Regions from separate parts of the Homo sapiens genome. Here regions 2, 3, 4, 5 and 6 are each linked to region 1. The links are contacts of gene promoters, found by promoter capture Hi-C in blood cells and fetal thymus (Javierre and others, 2016). All regions are on one chromosome and are shown on one strand. The core of a region is centred on a gene start or on the middle of the fragment in contact, and the rest is flanking DNA. Distances in the headings are between cores, read along the strand shown.

What was found. The method cuts DNA at HindIII sites, captures the fragments that hold promoters and counts their contacts. A CHiCAGO score of 5 or more calls a contact.
Region 2: a fragment that was not itself captured here is called in contact with the fragment with the promoter of SGK1 in region 1 in 1 of 17 cell types (neutrophils); the score reaches 8.4 in neutrophils.
Region 3: a contact is called between a fragment that was not itself captured here and the fragment with the promoter of SGK1 in region 1, in 1 of 17 cell types (neutrophils). The highest score is 9.1, in neutrophils.
Region 4: a contact is called between a fragment that was not itself captured here and the fragment with the promoter of SGK1 in region 1, in 1 of 17 cell types (neutrophils). The highest score is 10.1, in neutrophils.
Region 5: a fragment that was not itself captured here is called in contact with the fragment with the promoter of SGK1 in region 1 in 2 of 17 cell types (activated CD4 T cells and neutrophils); the score reaches 5.5 in activated CD4 T cells.
Region 6: a contact is called between a fragment that was not itself captured here and the fragment with the promoter of SGK1 in region 1, in 1 of 17 cell types (neutrophils). The highest score is 5.8, in neutrophils.

What each region holds. Positions count from the first base shown.
Region 1 is chr6:134,316,080-134,319,973 of GRCh38, reverse strand. SGK1 (serum/glucocorticoid regulated kinase 1) reads left to right here and starts at 1,862. Exons shown (of 14, transcript NM_001143676.3): 1 at 1,862-2,582. The coding sequence starts at 2,514. RefSeq lists an enhancer at 2,035-2,314. The HindIII fragment of the contact is 10,717 bases long and covers 1-3,894 here.
Region 2 is chr6:134,558,812-134,562,705 of GRCh38, reverse strand. No RefSeq gene overlaps it. Among named protein-coding and RNA genes, the nearest start is that of LINC03002, 21 kb to the right of the region's middle. The HindIII fragment of the contact is 4,904 bases long and covers 1-3,894 here.
Region 3 is chr6:134,516,574-134,520,467 of GRCh38, reverse strand. No RefSeq gene overlaps it. Among named protein-coding and RNA genes, the nearest start is that of LINC03002, 21 kb to the left of the region's middle. The HindIII fragment of the contact is 8,422 bases long and covers 1-3,894 here.
Region 4 is chr6:134,486,816-134,490,709 of GRCh38, reverse strand. All of the region lies in intron 2 of LINC01010 (long intergenic non-protein coding RNA 1010), which reads right to left. Among named protein-coding and RNA genes, the nearest start is that of CT69, 9.9 kb to the right of the region's middle. RefSeq lists a silencer at 2,871-3,082. The HindIII fragment of the contact is 5,752 bases long and covers 1-3,894 here.
Region 5 is chr6:134,466,884-134,470,777 of GRCh38, reverse strand. All of the region lies in intron 2 of CT69 (cancer/testis associated transcript 69), which reads left to right. All of the region lies in intron 2 of LINC01010 (long intergenic non-protein coding RNA 1010), which reads right to left. Among named protein-coding and RNA genes, the nearest start is that of CT69, 10 kb to the left of the region's middle. The HindIII fragment of the contact is 3,048 bases long and covers 383-3,430 here.
Region 6 is chr6:134,451,049-134,454,942 of GRCh38, reverse strand. It overlaps CT69 (cancer/testis associated transcript 69), which reads left to right. Exons shown (of 5, transcript NR_125852.1): 3 at 362-490. The region is part of intron 1 of LINC01010 (long intergenic non-protein coding RNA 1010); the gene reads right to left. Among named protein-coding and RNA genes, the nearest start is that of LINC01010, 15 kb to the right of the region's middle. The HindIII fragment of the contact is 7,211 bases long and covers 1-3,894 here.

The sequences.
Region 1 (3,894 bases), core at 613-3,112:
TGGGGAGGCCTCAGGAAACTTACAATCAGAGCAGAAGGGGAAGCAAACACATTCTTCTTCACATGGCATCAGGAAGGGGAAGTGCTGAGCAAAAGGGAGAAAAGCCCCTTATAAAACCATCAGATCTCATGAGAAATCACTCACTGTGGGAACTACAATTCAAGACGAGATTTGGGTGGGGACACAGCCAAATGATATCAACCAGTATGCATGCTAGGCCAATGTGGGATTAAGCAAAGCCCCAGCACCTCCTTCCTAGCAGAGTGCTTAAAGGTCCCCTCCTGTATATTACTCAAATTCAATAAATGTCTGTTAAAACACTTTTGGGGGAGTGGCAATGGGACGAAAAAGAAAGAACTTGAATGACCATCATTTTTTAAAATGAGGTCCATTGAGGTATAATTTACATGCAGCAAAAGTTTCCCTTTTCCTATATAAAATTTGATGAGTTCTGACAAATGCATAGTTATGTAACCACCACCATCATCATGATAGAGAACACTTCCATCGTCTCAAAATAATTCCCTTTGAACTACCATAATTTTAAATGAACTCTTTAGAAGAACCACAAAAACTTATCAATGTTGTAGATTACATAACATATACTTGCATCTTGGACAACTTAACATATCTCTCCAAAATGAATAGTTGTTTTCCCTTGGTTATCATGCCATCATTTAGTTGTATTGCATTTTCTTTTTGGAAACCTCAAGGCATTTAGCAAACAGGATTTCATGTTTATTCCCAAAAACTCTGGCCCAACTGTAGAGATTTATAGTCCAATTCAATGAAACCCATGCATTTCTTTCCCAGTTTAACCTGATGTTTCTCTTCTTACCAGAGACTTCCATGTAAATACTTTAACAATGTTAGGTGTGTTATATATAATGAGGTCATAATCAGTTTCAAATTAGCATTGCGCCTTTCACTTATTTATCAATTATATTCCCTTGTGATGATTATGAAAAGGCTCCACATCCTGAGGACACTTGTCAGAGTTAGATTTATTAATGGAATGAAATAGCAAATAATGAATGACTAAATAAATGAATGAGTGAATGAATGAATGAGTGGCTGCCTCCATTTTATGGATGAGGCAGTGTCCGAAAGGCACAGTGAGGTCAGGTGATGGCAGAAAGCCACACACCGATGTTGGTGGCTTTCTGCCAGGTCAGATGCCAAGTTTATTTTCTTTGCTTTCTTGCTTTACTATCAACTAATCTTTAAAATCATTCCCATAAAATATCAACATTAAAGAATAAAAATGGAAAAATAAGCCACATACAATTAAATGGCTTTTTTAAAAGGAGCTCAGTGTGCAAAGGATAACATGAGTAAGGATTTTTTGGGAAATTTTTCACCTAATAGGAAGAATGCTTTACTCTTTTATTTATCAAACCTTCCTCATCATTAAATGGATTCAGTAGTACTTTTTGGTAATAACTCGTGTGTGTGTGTATGTGTGTAATAAAGTACTTTGTATATGTTCATTGTGTTCTTTTTTTAATAAGCTGTTTTAATGAAAAAGACACAATTACCGTCACCATTGCCCACTATATAATGACAAGTAGGGGAGGGGAGGCTAAAAGAGCTTCTACATAGTGAGAGATCTTCCATTGTTATACCTACGCTTGCACTTTATTTCATTTTCTTCCACGTTTGGACAGGTCGAGATTAAATGTGATTACATTTCCGTTGAGAGGCTTTTATTCAGCAACAGGATTCAAAAGAATGTCAATGAGCATAAAATAAAAACGGTGTGCAATTTATATGAAACTCTGATTTAAATGGTCCTAACCAAAAAAAAAAAAAAAGAAAGAAAGAAAAGAAGCTATTTAAAGTAACCCTCCCAAGGGGAGTCAACTGCTCTTCAGTGTGCCCTGAGCCGGCTGTGCCTTCTCTCCATCCGCTGCTCAGATATTCATGAACCGTTGCTTCTTCCAGCCTCGCCTTCTCGCTCCCTCTGCCTTTCTGGCGCTGTTCTCCCTCCCTCCCTCTGGCTTCTGCTCTTTCTTACTCCTTCTCTCAGCTGCTTAACTACAGCTCCCACTGGAACTTGCACAATCAAAAACAACTCTCCTCTCTCAAGCCGCCTCCAGGAGCGCATCACCTGGAGAAGAGCGACTCGCTCCCCGCGCCGGCCGCGGAAGAGCAGCCAGGTAGCTGGGGGCGGGGAGGCGTACCCTTCTCCCGCTCGGTAAGAGCCACAGCATCTCCCCGGAGATTGGCCGTATCCCACCGTCCGGCCCCCAGGGTCCTGCAGCGGTGATGCATATGTTTCGGAGCAATGATGGAAGGAGAAAAGCCGCTGTCGGTGGCAACTGAAAGTGGGGAGAGGTTGCTGCAGTAGCTGGTGCTGCAGAATGCGCGAGTGAAGAACTGAGCCCCGCTAGATTCTCCATCCCGCTCAGTCTTCATTAACTGTCTGCAGGAGGTAAACCGGGGAAACAGATATGCACTAACCAGGCGGGTGCCAACCTGGATCTATAACTGTGAATTCCCCACGGTGGAAAATGGTAAACAAAGACATGAATGGATTCCCAGTCAAGAAATGCTCAGCCTTCCAATTTTTTAAGAAGCGGGTAAGGACAGGTTTTGCTTATTTCTTTTGTTTTCTGTGCTTCTCTTAAATGCTTTTGAATGTTTGCCTGAAGTAAGCCTGAGGTTTTGTTGCTAAACCCTTAATGTAAGCCGTGCTTCTGATGGCAGTGGTAAAGCTGAGAACTATACCTGACTTGATTAGAATTTGTTGGAGGAGGGGCAGGGGGCTATGAAGAGTTGCATTGGGAGGAGGGGGTTGGGCTGAGATGCCTTAAACGGGTTTGAGCTGGGAATGGGGATTTTTCTCTCTCAAGCCACAACAAAGATTACAAGGCAGTCGCAAAGAGAACTGGCTTGAGTACAATTATGGCTAGTAATTTAGTCAGGGGCTAATTTAGCAGCTTCCTCTCATCTTTGAAGGGTTCAACTTTTCTACACCTTTCATCCACTCAGTCTCAAGTGATGCATTATCATCTTCGTTCGTCAGAAGCAGCAGCTTCTGGTTTCCCAAATCCATTCAGCCAATAATTTGCTGTGTCTCTATCTGTGGTATAAATAGCAAAGGAGTAGAATGACCTTTTACAGAAATGATGGAATCCAGCATTTAAAATTGTCTATTTTAAGTTGCCTCAATTTTTGCTTTTGCTTAGAATAACTGCCTTTTTTTTTTTTTTTTTTTTTTTTTTTTTGGGAGAGAGCAGTGGGAGGTCTGTATTTGAGTGATAATTCAGGGTTATGTTGCTGTATGCATTTATTTCTTAAACTCCTTATTCTTCAACTCAAAGTATGAATAATGTTGCATTGGTTGTAGGTGAGAAAAAAGGATTTTTTTGCATGTATATTTCACAATAAACTCAGTTCACTGGGATGGCCACACTGGTGGTCTGTGTAAATCTGCAAATTTATACACAAGCGGGAGGTAAGAAATGAATGATTGTTAAAGGAATGACACTGACACTCTTAAGGACAGTGTTTCCTAAGCAACGTAAGAGAAGGAACATCCTCCAGTCCCCAGTTGCCCCATCCTATTTAATACCCTAGGGCAATTCCACCAAAATGGTTCTCTCCATTCATTCCTCCTTCCTTTCATTCAGGTCCTTTCTGTGCCACTCCTGAAACACAGCCCTTCAGTTAACTCATCCGCAGAACACAGTGAATTTCAGGGTGGGCTGGACTATCTCCCTGCACCAAATGGGCAAGCTGGGAAGGCAAGGCTAGAAATGCAGGCAACATGTCAGGCCCAGCTAGAGGGCCAGCGAAGGCTCCCAAGCACCCTTGACTGAGTTCTCATCAGTAAAGCAAAATCTTTCTCCAAGTCTGTGGGCCAAAGCATATGCATTCAAACCAAAATGA
Region 2 (3,894 bases), core at 879-3,378, 240 kb before region 1:
CCTTGCTTTCATAGTTCAGCTGGAGAGGAAGAGAACAAAAATGCAAACAGATAATTACAATATAAAAATGTAAATTTCATAATAGAGGGATGTCTGAAGAACTAAGAAAGCACAGTGGAGGGAACTACAAATTCTGCCTAGGGCAGTTGGGGAAGGTTTCACAAACAATCATTGCAGTTATTTTGACCAAAAGAATATTGAAAAAGTGTGTGTGTGTGTGTGTGTGTGTGTGTGTGTGTGTGTGTAAGGGGAGGAGTATTTCAATGTATCCTAATTTGCTTAAAAAAATACACAATATATGGTCCTATTTCTAAAAAATGGAGTGAGCTCCTCTGATGTCCTAAATGCTTTATACCTTCCCTTTTTTGAAGACGTATTCATCCTTCTAATGGGCAGTATGCTTTCAGAAGGGCTTCATCAGTGTGATCAATGGACAGGCTACGTGGTATATTAACAGATATAATATGTCAATAACTACAATTCTATTTTTGACATGAATTAGCTATTTTCTTCTTAAGTTTCTCTCTGGCACAGTTCAGTTCCCTCTACTAAATCTAGTAAGTTTTTATAGCAGTGATTATCTGAGACCAGAATAGATGGTCTCGGAAGTAATTTAACTCTTCAAAGTGGTTCAAAGGAACTAAAAAAGCTGGAAAAGCAGTGCTCTCATGTAAAGTAAGTGAGGAGAGAGACAAAATGAGATGAGCTGAAAGCCTAGGCTTTATCTTACAGGAATGAATAATTAGTTACTCAAAGATTAAAGACTAATGGATTTGGGACTGGTACTTAAAAGTATGTTTCACTTTCTAATGTTCTCTGAAATGAAACCTAATGAAGCAGATTTCACAGCAGTTTCCAAAACCCATACAAAAGACAGATCCTAAGAAGTGTAGCAGAAATCAAATGAAAACATCAAAATTTATAAATATGTTTTGAGAACTTTCATTTCATATTTATCCCTTTAAATTTAAATTTCATGAGGACCCATGGAGTACTATTCAGCCATAAAAAGGAATGAAATAATGGTCTTTGCAGCAACTCGGATGGAGCTGGAGGCCATTATTCTAAGTGAAGTACTCAGGAACAGAAAACCAAATATCGTATGTTCTCACTTATAAGTGGGAGCTAAGCTATGAGAACGTGAAAGCATAAGAATGATATAATGGACTTTGGGGGTCTGGGTAGGAATGGAGTGAGGGATAAAAGACTACATATTGGGTATAGTTTACATTGCTCAGGTGTCAGGTGCACCAAAATCTCAGAAAGCACTGCTACAGAACTTATCCATGTAACCAAAAACCACCTATACCCCCAAAACTATTGAAATAAAAATAAATAAATAAATGAAAATAAATTTCATGAGGATGTAGTAAGCTGAGAATTGCATACCGAATGCCACAAGCAAGTCTATTTTTTAAGAGTACAAAAAAAAAAAGCAGGCATATACACATATTCAGAAACAGATGAACAAAAAGGAGGCTAGTGACTCAACGTTTTTGACACTTAACAGTGGGTTGACTTGACTTTAGTTCCAGGAACGGGCAAAGGTTCAAGTTGGATCTCATTTTATTCAAACTGGTTTTCCCACCATCTTTAGTTACATCGTGACAGTACTCCCACTACTATGCCTCAAATACCAAACACTATGCCAATACTTTTATTGGATTAAAGAAAAGAAACCGCAAGTAAACATGTCTGATACCCCCAAAGATCACATATCTTTTTTTTTCACCAGTTATTTTTGCTGTCTTATTTTCTTGTAGGTGCTTTTGCTGATATGGGCCTGAATGTAGACAAGACCACAACACTTTGCAGCTGGCTATTTTTGTAGAGGAGGAATCTGTAAAGGGCAAGTAGGCTCAGTTCATTGCCCAGACGATCTCCAAATAGGTCCAAACCTGTTTAGCTGCAAATACAATAGCAGTTCTTTCATGCATTATTTAGTACAAAACATCTAGCTGTTGTTATTTAAAGTGGACTACAATTTTCAGAACTTTCACAATCCAAGAAATGCCTCAGTTTACCTGTCATATAAAGAAATTAATGTCACTTCATCCTGTCTGAGAGCATTAAGGTATTCTACAGACTATGAGATGTCTGGATCCACCAGGCAAAAAAGACTCATAGAGTTAAAAGCTATCAACTGCTCTTCTCTCCATAGTAGCAGGTTTGTCATTGTAACAAGTACAAGGTTTGGCAAACCTCATAAAGCAAATGGGTTTGTTCCCATAATCCTAGGCCTCTGGGCTTGGTTTCTGATTAGAAATGGTATGCTGGCACACTTCTTACACAGGAAAAGACAAAATGTGGCTGTTATGAAAATACTAGGGAGAGTATTAATTTTTGTCCTCAATAATATCATATAAGGTACCTTAGATATTTCTGCTGGTTTATCACTGTGCACTGCACTGAATAGTATGAATCCAGCAACAACAACTACAACAAAAAACATGAGACACAGGATTTAATCAATGGCAGTTCCAAAGATTTTCTGTGTGGGGTCAAAGAACAGTATTCTGCCAGTAGCTTGCCATTTCCTACAGTTATGCCAAAAAGCCAAATAGGTTTATGTGTAGGTAGAAGAGTAAAAGAGTTTAGTCTAACAATGAGCTTTAGTTTAAGAATTGGGACCAATTACATGAAATTCTTCTCTTCTCAATAAGCATTCTAGAACTACCATTTGATCCAGCAATCCCACTTCTGGGTATCTACCCAGAGGAAAAGAAGTCATTATACAAAAAAGATACTAGCACACACATGTTTATAGCAGCACAATTCGCAACTGCAAATATGTGGAACCAGCCCAAATGCCCATCAATAAACAAGTGGATAATGAAACCGTGATATATATATATATATATATATATATATATATATATATATAGGTGTACATCATATATATATATATATATATATATATATATATATGATGAAATTCTACTCAGCCATAAAAGCAAATAAATTAACATTTGCGGCAACTTGGATGGGATTGGAGACCATTATTGTAAGTGAAGTAACTCAGAAAAGGAAAACCAAACATCACATGTTTTCACTCATAAGTGGGAGCATCCTATGAGGATGCAAAGGCATAAGAATGATACAGTGGACTTTGGGGACTCGGGGAAAGGATGGGAAGTGGGTGAGGGATAAAAGACTACAAATTGGGTTCAGTTTATACTGCTAAGGTGATGGGTGCACCCAAATCTCGCAGATCACCACTAAAGAACTTACTCATGTAACCTGATGCCACTTGTTCCCCCAAAAAACTACGGAAATAAAAAAAATAAATAAAAGTATGCTAGAGATTATTACGTTACTTAAAAGTGAGGCACCATAGCATGGAATGGGTCCTGCCAAACTCTGGAGAGATTGTACGAGCAATGCTTCCCACTGGGCTGTTAATGATCCATAGCTGGCCAGCTACAGTCCCTTGCTTATCTGTATCTGTACACTTTAAACACATAAGAAAATCATCTAAGAAATATTCCGATTGTTGCTTTAATTAGTTCTTGTTTCAAGACAATCTATTTCTTGTGGATCACCTACATGGTAATCAGAAGGACAAACACATCATTATCTCTACCAATCACATTACCTTCAAATATGACCTTTGCTGATCAGGTTGTTAAAAATTATACTAAGAGCAGTAATTCTGTAATAGTTCTTATCTCACAAGAGGAAAAATAACCAAAATGCTGTAAATGCCAATGAATCCCCAAGGAAATATCGGAGCTTCTTCTACAGATATTTTCATAAAGGAAACAAAGAAGACGACTTGTGTATTAGTCTGTTCTCATGCTGCTAATAAAGACATACCCAAGACTTGGTAATTTATAAAGGAAAGAGCTTTAATTGACTCACAGTTCAGCATGGCTGGGGAGGCTTCAGGAAACT
Region 3 (3,894 bases), core at 504-3,003, 200 kb before region 1:
GTGGTTCCTGGCTGTAATCCTAGCACTTTGGGAGGCCGAGGCAGGGGGACTGCTTAAGACCAGGAATTCAAGACAAATCTGGGGAACATAGTGAGACCCCGTCTCTACAAAAAATTTTAAAAAATTAGCCAGGTGTGGTGGCCCGTTCCTGTGGTCCCAGCTACTCAAGAGGCTGAGGCGGGAGGGTCACTTGAGCCCAGGAGTTTGAGGTTACAGCAAGCTATGATCGCACATCACTGCACACTAGCCTGGGTGACAGAGCGAGACCCTGTGACCCCCTTCCTCCCTGAAAAAAAAAAAAAAAATAGGATGAATCAGTGTCAAAATTATGAAGAAAAATATTCTGGGTTCTTAATTCTCAAGGTCTGCATGACCAAAATGGTAAGAGCTCAGAGGGTACAAATTCAAAATGTATTCATTGCTAGAATTGATCTTTAGTGACTGCATTTGAAAAATCTGAAACCACTTGAAAAACAATTGTATATGTGCATATACGTACATGCGTGCGTATGTGTGTGTGTGACCTGAAAAATTTCATTATGAGGTCCTTTATATGGCTACTGTAGCAAGTCCTTCAGTTTATACCAAATGTCTCCTCATAAATCAGTAAACCTCTTCATTTGTTCCTTGATAATGTAAGAGCAATTTCTTTAGAAGGCATATACTGTCCTATAACTGCAGCTTTCTCTTTGTCTCATCTGTACACAATACATAGAATTAAGCACAAAGAAGCAAATGGATGTACCAAAAACAAAGAGCAAACTTTGCAGGGAGTTACGTGCAGGGTCTGAGAGCATTTCCTGTCTCATAGATAGGAAGCATTTGCATCACGGCTTGTCATCTGCGCTGTCGGGCCCAGTGTCTCCTAACTTCCTGAAATAAAACCAGACTAAGCAAAACAATAAAAGTGACAATTTCTCTGTGTTTTGGAATTCCAAACTCCTATTACTGGAACATTAAATCTTTCAACCCTACTGGCTAATGTGCCTTCCAAAATTAACAGTGTTTTTGTAATGGTTTGTTTTTAAAATATAATGCTGCAATATACATTCCATATATTATAACAACTTCTTATTATTATTATTTTGAGATGGAGTTTCACTCTTGTTGCCCAGGTTGGAGTGCAATGGCGTGATCTTGGCTCACTGCAACCTCCACCTCCCAGGTTCAAGTAATTCTCCTGCCTCAGCCTCCTGAGTAACTGAGATCACAGGTGCCCACCACAATGCCCGGCTAATTTTCTATGTTTTTATTAGAGACAGGGTTTCACCATGTTGGCCAGGCTTGTCTCGAACTCCTGACCTGAGGTGATCCGCCCACCTTGACCTCCCAAAGTGCTGGGATTACAGGCATGAGCCACCGCACCCAGCCTATAACACTTATTTTAAACATTATTCCCAAATTCTGCTAATCTTTGTGTCAAGAGAAAAATACTGGCTTATTAAAATTTACTTTTCCTTTTACTCTTCTAAATGGCTTGAACAAAACTCATTCTCCCTTGAATGTTAATTGGGTTTCAGGTGTGGGCAGATGACAGAGAAATACATAATATAAAAACAATCCTTAGTTTTGTCTGTAAATTTATCTTTCTTGCCCTTCAAGTGTACTTGATGGTCCAGTGGTTTCCAACTGTGATACAAAATTTTCATTTGCCTTTATAAGAAATCATCTCGTATAAAGAAGTGGTCATATTTTATCAGCATCATCACCAACAAACACATCACCATCACCACTTTTTAATTTGTAGAAAATCCGGTCTTATCTGCCAAGTTGGCAAGATATCAAAAGAGCGTGTTTTAAGGTGGTTCAGTTCTGGATGAGTTTGGGAAGTTCATGGTCGAGTCTGGGGAGAACTTCTATGTCATAAACCTCCACATCACATAGGTTAACAGAGTAATAGAATTGTGTAGGTACAGAGACCTGATGAAACCTACTGACACCTCTGCTTTTCAAACCAAGAGAGTGCCCCTTCTAGGGTGCCCTTGGGAATGTGCAGCCATGAATTAGGTGTGCCTGGAGTAAAGGAACACACAAGACTGCGAGATGGGATGAGGTGAGTGTGAGTGAGTGCATGGAGAGAGGTTTAGGTAGGACATAATATCTATGTTTTAAATATCAAAACAAACTCAGATGATGGAAACGAATATAAATTTTTCATAAAATTTTAGGGAACAACTAACTTATTTTCTGTTTAGAGCAAGCATTCAGACCTGTAGAGAGTACAAATTCATTCAGCCCAGAAGAAACGCTTAAGGAGAGTGATCTGATCCCATGCTTTCATTATGCTGCAAGGAAATAGAAGTGATTTACCAGCCCACTAGAATCCTGGTTTTCTGACTGCCAGGCCTCAGCTCCAATTCATAGCTCTTTAAGAAAAGAGGAAATGCAGAATTAACTTCTATTAAATTTCATCCATGGGCCAGACAGGATGACGACTGCCAGGCATTGTCATCGTCACAAGCGGTGGTTACGAGCTCAGGCTCCCAGGCACACTTCTTCAGTGGGAAATTGGTTCCACCTCTTACCTGTGTGACTTTAGGCAGGTCATTTTTAAGTCAACTGATTCCTAGTTTCTTCACTATAAAATGAGGATCATAAATGAAACTTCTTTACTGACAAGAATTAGATGAGACAATCTTTGCAAAATACTTAATGGTGCTTGGCGTGCAAATGTTAGTTCAGTGAAGACTGAATAGAAAAAAAGAGAAAAAAAATCCTTTGTCTGTGGGAGGGGTGAGGAAGAGGCAGTGGGGGTCGATTTTATGGCTGTTTTACAGATGAGAAAAATTGGGATTGAGTAAAATTCACTCATTTGCCAGCAAGTTGCAAAACCAGTATGTGAAGTTGTGTCTGTTTGAACCCCCACTTCAGATTGTGTCTGCGACACCGCAACGCCTTCCTGTTAAGAGAGCCGAGAGCTGGAAACTATGCTGAGGCCATCCCCTTTGGGAGCTGGCTGCCGCACTCACTGCACTCATGCTGAGTTCTGAAAGCCCTCTGGCAGCTCCCCAGCAATTCCAGCAATCTGCAAAGTTCTGAACTGGGTGCTGCCCAGGTGGCAGAAGTCAGTGAGCATATCCAGGTGACAGTGCAAATATGATTGTAGGTAGGAGTCCGGAATGTGACCTTGACTTCTTTTAGCCATTTCCCAGTCCGTTCTCAAGGGCAGATGCTGCGTCCTCTCTCAATGCAGGGCTGACTCACTCCATGCCCAACACTGTAAGAGCTTGCTCTCTGTCTCAGCTCTGCCAATAACGTGACCTTAGGCAGCTCACTTTACTTCTTCAAGGCAGGCTTAGGATAGATCCTCAAGCCACACCCCTGGCCAACAACTCGGATTCTACAGAGTGAGACACTGAAATATTTATATTTCTTTATGGTAACCTTTTCATTGAAGTAAACCTTACATCAGGAAAAAATGTGCAAGCCCTGTAAATATACAGATTAATTTTCACAAAGTGAACACAGTCTCACATTAAATAATAAAGCAATCCAGCCCAGAAGACACCCTCTGGGCCCCCTACTAGGCACCACTCTACCAAGATAACCACTCTATTTTGACTTTTAACATCATAGCTTACGTTTGCCAATTCTGAAATTTTAGATAAATGGAATCACACAGCATGTATTCTTTTGTACGTGGCTTCTCTCACTCAGTAGTGTGCTTGTGAAATTCATCCATGTTATTGCAGGTAGTTCTAGTTTGTTTTCATTGCTATATAGTAAGGGATCAATCTCCGGTTTTATAAATAAAGTTTTATTGAAACACTGCCAGGCTAATTTGTCTCAGTATTATCTACAGCTGCTTTCACACTACAGTGGTAGAGTTTAGCTGCCACAGAGATTACATGGCTGGCAAAGTTAGAAATATTTACTATCTGGCCCTTTACAGAA
Region 4 (3,894 bases), core at 725-3,224, 170 kb before region 1:
TTTAACGAATTAATTATTCCCTCTTCCTTTGTTTTCTGAAAGAGTTTGTTTTGAACTATTTCATTTCTTAAACATTTAATGAAAATCACCGGTGAAGACCTCTGAGCCTGGAGTTATCTCTGTTCAAAGCTCCTTAATTATGAACTGCGTTTCTATAATTAATATAAGGATATTTAAGTTCTTAATTTTGGGGGGTTCTGATTTGGTAATCTGTTTTTCTTAAGAAATTTGTCTATTTTATCTAAATTGTCAAATTTGTTGGCAAAAGCTACACGTAGCATTCTCTTATGATCTTTTTAATGTTTGTAGAATCTGAAGTGATGCCCCGTTTTCTGATATTGGTAATTTTGCACTTGTGTCTTTTGGCTAGAGTTTTAAGAATTTTATTAACATTTTAAAAGAACAAGTTTTTGTTTTTGTCTGTCTCTATTGCTTGTCCAATTTTCCTTTCATTGATTTCTGCTACCTTTATTATTTTCTCCCTTCTACTTATTTGGGCTTAATTTTTGTGCTTCTTTTTGTAATTTCATAAGGTTGAAATGTCAATCATTGATTTTAGATATTTTTGTTTTTCTTTAATTTATACATCTCATATGTATAAATTAATACCTCTTCATAAAAGAAAAAGATCTAAGAAGAAAGAAAAAGATCTACCTATAGATTTGTCTCAATCACTGTTTTAGCTGCATCCCCCAAATTTTGGTGTGTTGCATTTTTATCACTCAGTTCAAAATATTTCCTAACTTCTTCTTGCAATTTTTTTCTTTAACTCATTAGTTACTTAGGAGATGTTGTTTAATTTCCAAATGTTTGGGGTTTTCCTAGATATCTTGTTTCTATTTGTTTCAAATTTAAACCCATCATGATCAAAGAGCATACTAAGTATGATTTCATTATTTTAGAATCCTTCACTGAAACTTGTTTTATGGCTGAATATATTATCCATCTTGGCAAATATACCACATTGCTTTTGAAAAAAATGCATCTTTTGTATTCTTTCAAATGTTGGGTGTAGGATTCTATAAATATCGAGTAGATCAAGATGGCTGATAATTTTGTAAAGAGCTATGTGTTTCTGATTTAATTTGTCTAGCTGTTCTTTTATCTTTGGGAGAATGGCATTAAAATCTCTAATTATAACTTAGAAATGGCAATTTTTGTTTCCAGTATTTTTAAGTTCTGTTATTAGGCACATAAACATTTATTACTGTTATGTATTTCTAGTGGATTGCCAAATTTATTATTATAGAATGTCCCTCTTTATCTCTGGTGATACTTTTATCTTTAAAATTTTGTTTATATCTTATTTTAATATAGCTACACCAGTCTTCTTACACCTTCTGTTTTCATGGTAAGTCTTTTTCCACCCATATACTTTCCATCTATTTTTCTCTATATATTTAAAGTGCAACTCTTATAAATGGCATATATTTTGGTCTTGCTTTTTATCCATACTATCGCTATATTCTAAATGGAGTGTTTAGATTACATTGGAGTGTTTAGATTAAATGCATTCATGTATTTATTGATATATTTATGATTGGGCCTACGATTTTATTATTTTGTATTTGTTCCTTCTATATTGTGTTTCTTTGTTCCTGTTACCTATTTTTTTAGATACTTGGAATTAAAGTTTATTCTTCCTATTAGCTTTTTAGCTATACTTCTTGGCATTATTTATGTAGGTGATTGCTTTAGGAATTGGACTTCTTACAGTCCACTTACATTTATGCATTATGGTTTCATACAAAATGTAGAAGACTTACAACTCCGTAAGATCCATATTGACTTCCCCCTAATCCTTTATCCTTAGTTGTTACATGTATCACATCTGGATATCTTAGAAACCCCACAAGATAATGATATAGATTGCTTTAAACAGTTATATTGACTATACAAAATTAAGATAAAAAAGCAAAAAAAAAAAAGCATTTTCTAGCCAGACACGGTGGCTCATGCCTGTAATCCCAGCACTTTGGGACGCCAAGGCAGGAGGATCACCTGAGGTTGGGAGTCCAAGACCAGCCTGACCAACATGGAGAAACCCTGTCTCTACTAAAAATACAAAATTAGCCAGGCATGGTGCCTCATGTCTGTAATCCCAGTTACTCAGGAGGCTGAGGCAGGAGAATTGCTTGAGCCTGGGAGGCAGAGAGGTTGTGGCGAGCCAAGATTGTGCCATTGCACTCCAGCCTGGGCAACAAAACTCCGTTTCAAAAAAAAAAAAAAAAAGAGAAAAAAAAAAAGCATTTTCTGTTCACCCAGATGGTTATTAGTTCTAGTGCTCTTCACTCTTATTCATGGTTCTGAGTTTCCATCTCTTTTTATTTCTCTTCAACCTCAAGAACTACCTTTAGCATTTCTCATAGTGTTGGCCTGCTTGCATCAAATCGTCTTAGTTTTCTTTCATCTGAGAATGTTTTTCTTTCTCCTTCATTTCTGAAGGGTATAGAATTCCCAGTTGACAGCTTTCTTTTTCTTGAAGCACTTTGAAGATGTTGTTCTACCCTGCTGGCCTCTGTGGTTTCTCATAAGATCAGCTATTAACTGAATTACTGTTCTCTTATATATATGTGTCATTTTATTGCTTGCCACTTTCTAGATTTGTTCTTTAATTTTGGCTTTCAGTATGTGACTCTGATGATACCTGTTTCTGCAAGATAGGCTTTGGCAAAAATCAAAATTTTAGGTCAAATAACAGCCTCACTGATTCCTTTACTGGCTAGAACGTAAAATGTGTAGAACCACGTCAGGTTTCCAAGGAGAATCTTATCAAATCTTTAAAGAGCATGCAATTTAAATGCTATTGAGATTGACCAGAGCAAAATTCTTTGTATGAAGCAAGTATAATATTAATAACAAAATATGATTTAAAATTTACATAAAAAAGAAAACTACAGAAGAATCTCAAATATGATGACAGTCAGAATCAAATAACACATTTATAAAAATAATACACTGGCCAAGTGCAATGGGTCATGCCTGTAACCCCAGCACACTGGGAGGCCAAGGCAGGAGGATTGCTTGAGGCCAGGAGATTGAGATCAGCCTGGGCAATGTAACAAAACTCCATCTCTAAAAAAAAAAAAAAAAAAAAAATTAGCCAGGCATGATTGCATGCACCTGTAGTCCTAGCTACTTGGGAGGCTGAGGCAGGAAGCTAGCTTGAGATAAAGGCTGCAGTGAGCTATGATCATGCCACTACACTCTAGTCTGGGCAACAGAGAGCAAGACCCAGTCTCAAATAATAATAATAATAAAAATAATATACCATAATCAAGTGGGGTTTACTCTGTAAATCTAAGAATACTTGGCATCATGAAGTCAATTGATACAATTTGTCAAATTTAAGGAGATTTAAAGAGAAAATTCACAAATCATCTCTGCAAATACTAAAAAGATATTTGATACAACAGAATGCCCATTCTTGATTTTTAAAATTCAATAAAATAGAACTTGAAAAGTATTTTGCTAACATGAAAAAGATATATAAATAGAAATCCCAGAACAACACAAGGATGCCCACTATACCACTGGTATTTAATGTTTCATTGGAGGTGTTAACTCTCGCCATTAGATAACAGAAGAAAATCGGTAGTGTAAGAACTGAAAAGGAAGAGGAAAACTAACTCTTAATCCACCTGACAAAGGCCTAATATCCAGAATCTACAAGGAGCTTAAGCAAACTTAGAAGAAAACAAACAACCCCATTAAAAAATACGTGAAAGATATGAACAGACACTTCTCAAAAAAAGACATACATGTGGCCAAGAAATCTGTGAAAAATAGCCCAACGTCACTGATCATTAGAGAAATGCAAATCAAAACCACAATGAGATACCAACTTGTGCCAGTCAGAATGGTGATTATTAAAAAGTCAAGAAACAACAGATG
Region 5 (3,894 bases), core at 657-3,156, 150 kb before region 1:
GAAAGAATGGGAAAGAGAAGAGAAAGAGGGAGGAAGAGAGAGAGAGAAGAAGGAAGGAAGGAGAGAAAGAAAGCAAGAAAGCAAGCAAGAAAGAAAGAAGGAAAATGTCAGACTTGTTGTCAACCTATGAGTGACAGGCAGCATCATACAACAAAAATAGACATGATGACAGAATCTCAAATTTGATCTAAAGCAGATCGTCTCAAGTTCTGTAACGGCATCAAAATGAACTGTCCTCAATTGAAAAGAGCCAGTACATCCTATTTTAAAATCTACAGAAATGCACCTGTGTTTCCCATCACTGTACCAGGACTCCAGTTTCCAAGTTTGCAATGCAGTGAGAAAAAAAAAAACGCCCTAAAATCCTTCTCTATCTTAAGCTTCAAACTACTGCAGACTTGAAGCGAAGATAAAAGAAAGGCTTCTAACCTCCATTTTTTTACTTTTTGGTGCTTAACAGGCAATCCTAACATTAACAGGTTTAGTTCCATGAAACACCTTCTGGGCCAAAAGATAAGACTTCCTTCCCCCATAAATCACATTTTCTCAAATATTTTTCAAAGCTGAGGTGTAAGCCTTTTAATAGAATTATGCAAATTTTGCCCCAACTCTAAATGTTTTAGGAACTAAATAACCACTTTGAAGAATCACAGTTTTGCAGTGTCCACATTGGAAAATAAATGCTAGAAACTGCAGGCAATGAAAGGGACGGCGGTGGCGCCCCAAAAGTGGGAATTTGTCCTTAACGTTATTTTGCACAAACCTAAAGCAACCTCTGCTACTGAAAGGTCAGTTTTGACTCTCTGGGATGAAAATGCTGACCAGTCGTTAGGGGATTATCTGCTTGGCAGAGTAGAAGAAGTCCAGATCAAATGCATCTCATTCCTGATTTGAACTGGCTGAAGGACTAAAAACATCTCAGGCACAAGTCAGGGCAATGAACAGTGAGGCTAGAGACTTGTATAACTCCTAAAACTGAGATGCCAAAGGACATCTGAAAAAGGGCTATGGTTCATTGTGAAGAAATACGATATTTCCTAGTTGGTTTTTTTTTTTTAAATAATGGAAGTCATTTTCTTTTAAATGGTACTTAGAAAAAGATTATTATGAACAATATCTTCCAGTCCGACACATGCTTAGCACTGCAGACTGGGTAAGACACCCTGTTTAATGGAAGATTAGTATTGTCATATACATAAGCTAGAACATGGAAAAGCACACAAACTGTTCTGATTCTGCAACTCTTGGGCCTTCTGCATGTGGGTAAAGAAAAGCAGTTATGTGGAACTTCCAGAAGCACTGTCTTATCACTAAGGGCACTCTTTAGGACTAAACGGCTAATAAAAAAACAGTGATTTTTTTTTTTTTGGACTTAGGTAAGGTAGAAACAAGAAAACGTTTTCTTGTTGCGAACTCATAGACCCTGCGGCACGGCTTTAAAACAGTTAGGAGTGTCCCTGCTCCCTCTGTGGGCTGGTTCTTTTCTCAGCTGTTCCCTTTTCTGGGAGAATGGTCTCTTCTCCCTAAAAACAGTGCTTGAAGGTGGCATGTGTGGCAAAGCAGGCTCGGGACAAAGGAAGAGCACAAAAGAAGGAGTGCGGCATATGGGAACCTTTGCCAAGTTATTATTTTTATTCCAGTTTAGCTTTTTAAGGGTCGCTAGCTAAGGCTGACATTTATTGCCATCATGCTATTTCCTAAGAATAAGGCCTCAGCTGAAAATCTGACCCCAATCAACTTTCAAAAATGCACTGATATATTTTAAAACACACACAATAATGACAAAACCCCCAAATTGCAGCCTGTCCTCTCTCTTTGTATGATGCCTATCTGCCTTGGCACTGTCCAGACTGTATGCCCTTAGAAGCAGCTCCTTGCCTGCAGCTGTGAGGTGTCTTGTTTGCCATCGACCACCTGTGCTATGTGCACACTCAGCTGGCATTTCTGCCAAGAAGCTAAAGTCAGGAACACCAGCAATTTCAAATATGTAATCAGGTTTCAAATTAAAGTCCTTGTGCTTCTGGTATATGGGAGTGTTCCCAGAAAGAGTGGGGGTTCTGCTGTCACTCTTCTAGCTGCTGTGTAATTTTTTTTTTTTGCAAGGCACTTGGTATGTATCTGGCTTTAAAACTGACATTGCCAGGCATCAGAAGTTGAGAAGTTTCGTCCTTGATTTATTTGTTCTCGTTTGTGTTCAATTATGATTAGAAGTCACCTCTACACAGCTGCTCTACAATTTGTACTGCATTTGCTTCTGGGATTTCTAACCGCACTGTTCAGTGGAATAACATTAACAATATGAAAATGAAGTCCGTTTTTATAGTGCAGTGGATAGTGTTTTATTAAAAATGGCTAACAGCTGTAATTTGTAGGTAGTTAACTCATGTGAAGTTTAACTTTAGCATGTATTTTTCCCTAGGAAAATATTTTATATAAACAGAAAGACAAATGTGAAAAAGTAAATCAAACCCAAAACACACCTACCAAAGTAATTCTGATCACAATAGCGACATCTCTGCTGCTGCTATGTTTCTGGAAAAAAAAAAGGGGGCTCCCCACTTTAGTCTGGAATGATAGTAAGTAATAAAAAGAAAATATATAGCTGTCGATGTTTTTGTTTTCTTTTCTTTTCCCCACAATAACAAGGACTTCATAGACACAGATAAGCTACATGTTCTTTTCCAAAAATTTCCTGCAACAGAGTTTTCTGACAGGGTCATATTACAATTCTAAATGTGAATAACACAGCAAAAAGAAAAAAAAAGGGTATTTTTTGGCTGGTACTCATGGGTATTAGTTTGCACTCTTGCAAGCTAACTGAATATCCACAGACCTTGTGTAGAGTCCAGAGGATGGCTTTGATGCTCTTTCTGCTACAGGCTGGTTTGGGTGCCTGAGTTAGAAGTGTTAAAAGGGCACAGAAAACAGATCTCCTGATTGGCTTCTTTTTCTGAGCACCATTACCTAGGGCACAATTGTGAAAGAAGATATCAGGAATGATAAGAAGACAGGATCATACCTCAGGGAAAAAAGAGACCAGTCATAACTACAGATGGTGCCTCTAATGTAAAGGTGGCTACAAATGTGTGTGAAGAAGTGGATAGTATTCTCGTTTTGCAGTGCCTAGAGTTTAAAATTTAGTATAGTAGGGTCTATGGATATTCCATTAGCTTTCAAGAGTACAAACTAATACCCATGTGTACCAGCCAAAAAAAATCCTTTTTTTTTTTTTTTTGCTTTTTGCTGTGTTATTCATATTTAGAATTGCAATCTAATCCCTTCTGAAAACTCTGTTGCAGTAAACTGTTTTCCATTATTCTTATCATCTTCTAACATGCCATTTGATATGTTAGAAATATTAAATGTTAGCCTGTTCTTTATTTCCTGCACACTCTTCCTCCCCAACCAGAATGTAAGTGCCGGGGAAGCTTTGTTTGCTTTATTTACTCCTCTGGCCCTAACCCTAGATCAGTGCCAGGCACATAGTTGTCTGTTGACTTAGTAATGAGTAATCCATTTTAGTCCTGTGTTTCTATGAAGCTGATTGATAATAAGCTTATAGCTTCTGAAATTATATTATATTATTCTATATTTATTGAACACCAAAGGCAAAATCTCTATCTTTTTATTTCAAGGTACAGTGCAGACTGCTAACACTTGGAGAATTTTAATGTTATTACTTGAAGTGAGTTGAGGCTCCTAATTGGAGAATGACTGGTTGGTTATCAATTTAACTGCTTGTGAGATTGTTAGTTTTTTGAGTAGAGGTCAGGAATAACACTGCAAGAGAATATGTTTTCCAAACTCCTCCTATAAATGCACCATCCAATTAAAGAAAGCTGAGATAACATTACTTCAAGGCACTTTCAAAAAAATGATGTCAAATTTTGCACA
Region 6 (3,894 bases), core at 1,040-3,539, 130 kb before region 1:
TGGCAGCTGGAGCAACTCAGATTATAAATGCTAGTTCCTCTGCAGACTTCCCAAGACTTGTTGACCTAAAACCTTGCCTTATCCAGTTAGGGGGTTGTTGAAAATAATAAAGCCAAAGACCGTGCAATGCTCCTTATCATCTCTAGACAAAATATCTCTTGGAATGCATAGCCTGCCTTGTCTTACATGATAAAGCATCCCAGACTAAATTTATATTTCACATGGATGGAAGTAGTGCATTTTCCATTAGGAAATGGAACAGTAAGGATGGATTGTTCTCAGGTACCCACATCCAGGGACACTATCCAAGAAGCCACACAAAACACGTTTTAAACAGACAATATTCCTTTTCTCCTTGTAGGGTGCTTAGCAGAATCCTCAGCTCACAAGATGAATAAATGCAGACTAAATGATGCACAAATAATCTTCACACACAACCATCAACACATGGAAAGACTGCAGGACGGCCAGATCCCAAGCTAACAAACAGGTAAAATTTGCATAATTAGGTCTTCAGGTGTCTTTAGTTATGAAATGTGTCTGATTCACTTGGTGATTCTGGGCGTCTTAAGCTGGGTCTGTTAGAAGCCAACCTGGCTCACGTTCTGCCAATCCGCTGGGTGTTTGCTGTGCTGGGTATCATTAACCAACCAGTTTGATAGGAGTGCTTTGTTTTCTGCACTGATGAAATTTGTTTTCTGAGCTGCCTGAACAAACAGGTTATTTAAGCCATTGTGTGGAGAAGGTTGGAGGTGGTTTTTAGAGAAGACAGATCTCTCTTCCAAGGAAGGATTATTATGTGGTTGCAGTAAGAGATGAGAAATTATTCTCTTGATGTCCACATGTCATTGAGGCCACAGCAGGACAGGGAGGCAACCCTTCATATTGATGTGAATGGTGGAGTGTAACTCATCCAACCAGTTTCCCCTGAGGAATTTCTCAGCCAAACAATTCCTAACCTCTCTCCTCCCTTATGTATCCCTAATAGATTGGAGTGGGGGAGGGGTGGCGCTGACACTGAAACCTTCAGTGCTTGTTAGGAACACATCTAAAATATTTTATTTGAGGGCAGTAAAATGAAGAAACCAGGTTGCCTGGTGGGAAAACCATCAGCTTTTGAATCATCAAATTTTGAATCAAATCCCAGCTCTGCCAGCATTAGCTTCATAACCTTAGACCCTCTCTGCATCTCAATCATCAACTGTAAAGACTGCTGTGAAGTTTAATAAGACACCTAGAATAGTGTCTAGTGGTGTCCAAAGTGTGGCCTGGCCTAGGACCAGTATCTGCATCACCTGGAAACTTCTTAGAATTGCAAATTCCCAGTCCCATCACAGACCTAATGAATTAAACTGGGATGGAGAGAAGGTAGCAGCAACCTGGTTTTAACAAGCCATCCAGGTGATTCTGATTCACAAGAAAATTTAAGAACCCCTGGCCGGGTTTACAAAAGTCCCTCAATAAATGGCAGCTGTTCTATCATATTAGTGTAGTGTTTTACAGCTTACTGATTTGCTTTTTCATTCACACTACCATCTACTTTGCTCAGGTTTACATTCCCTTTGACCCAGTAATTCCACTTTGCAGAATTTTCCTAAGGAAATAATTAGAGATGTTCAGAAAGATTTATATGAAGAATTAATCATGCACGTGAAAATTTAGAAACTAATGTCAAATGAACAATATGAAACTGGTTTAATAAATTATGGCACACCTATATGATGGAACACAGTGCAGCATTTTAAAAGCATATTGTAGATCAGTGTATGTCAGAGCAAGCTCTGAGAATCACCTCCATCAGAATCTTCTGGGGTGCTTCTTCAAAAGGCAGATATCAGATTTATGAGTCATCATCTGCGGTTATGAATGAGGATCTCTGCGAGTGAGAGACTTCAGAATCTTTATTTCCCACATGCTCCCAGGTGAGTGGTATGCACCCAAAAGTTTTCAAATAATGTTTTAGATTAATAATAATATATGGAAGATATTCATGGTGTATTATTGAGTGAATGAAAGTGTGTTTTAAAGCAATATTTACAATATCTCAATAACATATGCACCATAGCCGTATATGTAAAAAGACCAAACTACATATGCTAAAATGCTAAGTAATTATTTCTGGACAGTAAGATGGCAATTCTGGTGATTTGTTTTCTTCTGTTCTCGATGTTTTGCATTTTCTGTAATGTATAGCTTTTCCATGAGAAAAGTAAAACCACATAATAGTGCATGTGTCATTAAACTATGGAGTGGGAGCTTCACATTTTATTAATTTTTTTAAATTTTTGATTTCAGTAGAGATGAAGTCTCACTAGGTTGTTCTCAAACTCCTGGCCTCAAGGGATCAATCCCAAAGTGCTGGGATTACAGGCGTGAGCCACCATGCCTGGACTGCTTGAGGAGTGAAGGCTAAGATAAATCCAGAATTAAGCTGTGTATTAGTCTGTTTTCACACTGCTATAGAGAACTGCCAGAGACTGGGTAACTTATAAAGGAAAAAAGTTTAATTGACCCACAATTCTGCGTAGCTGGGAAGGCCTCAGGAAACTGACAATCATGGCAGAAGGGGAAACAAGCCTGTCTTACATGGTGGTAGGCAACAGAGAGCATGTGAGAGTGCAGGAAAAACTATCATTTATAAAACCACCAGATCTCGTGAGAATTCACTCACTATCATGAGAACAGCATGGGGGATACTACCCCCATAATCCAATCACTTCCTTCCCTCAACACGTGGGGATTACAATTCAAGATGAGATTTGGGTGGGGACACAAAGTCTAACCATATCAGGCTGTAAACAAGTCCTCCTCACCTCTGCCCAGGGGATGCTGAGGCAGTCAGCCATTCATTAGGCAATGCAGGTGACTGGGCATGCTGCTGACCCCATCTGTAGTCCCTGGATAATCACTGGGGGCAGAAAGAAAGGAAATCAGAGCACTATTGACCTGGCACAGAAGTTATGGAGCCTTCTGTGGACTTCTTTTATAACAGGAGAGTTGCCCATCTTTCATGGGTGAATCCCCTTAAAATGCATAACAATTTAATCTTGGAGTTTGTGTTTTGTAAGTGAAGTCCAGAAGGACAATGGAACAGGGGGTGAGGAGCTTCCTCATCCACTCTCATTATCTCCCACCCCTCCACTCTCTGCTCCCCAACCCCCTTCCAGTGACTACAGCCATTTGGGCAGGCAGGGGCCTGGGCCTGCAGGGGGCGTGGAAGCTGGGTGCACACACCCCATGCACCAAGTGGCTGGGCAGGCCTGAGCTACCTGAGACCATCTGCACTCACCCTGTGAATACCCCTGTATCAAAGAGAGCATGAAATTAAATAGCAAGTAAGAGACCCCATGACAGGCCAAAAGAGAAAGAAAGGAAATCTTCCACACCTCCCCCCCACCACCACCCCTGCTTTTTGAAGGGACTTTGAGGGTTTTTTGTGTGTGTGTTTTCACTTGGGCTCTGCAAATTAAGGTAGCAGTCCAGATGAGGACTTAGGGATCGATGCACACATATCAAAGAAATGAAAAGAGGGCTTATTGGAAGAGGTTCCTCCCTTGGTAATCATTTCTGGTCTGTCTGAGAAAACTAATGTACTCCAGAAGGGTGTATCCCTGAAGGCACTACAATGTAGAATAAATTGTGTGGTTAAGTCAGGAGTATTTTCTCAGAAGGGTGTCTCTAGTGATTATAGACCAGGACACAGCCCTACTTAATTATATGCAGTATAAATAATCATTCTAAATAGTCTTTTCATATATACATGAAAGAGTATTTCATATGTGTGTATATACACATATATATGAAGCCAGGACTAATTAGAGAAAGTATCAGGAGTGTGACAGACAAGTTCTTCAGCTTTTGTTAAACAAGATTGAGGGGGAAAACATAATTATC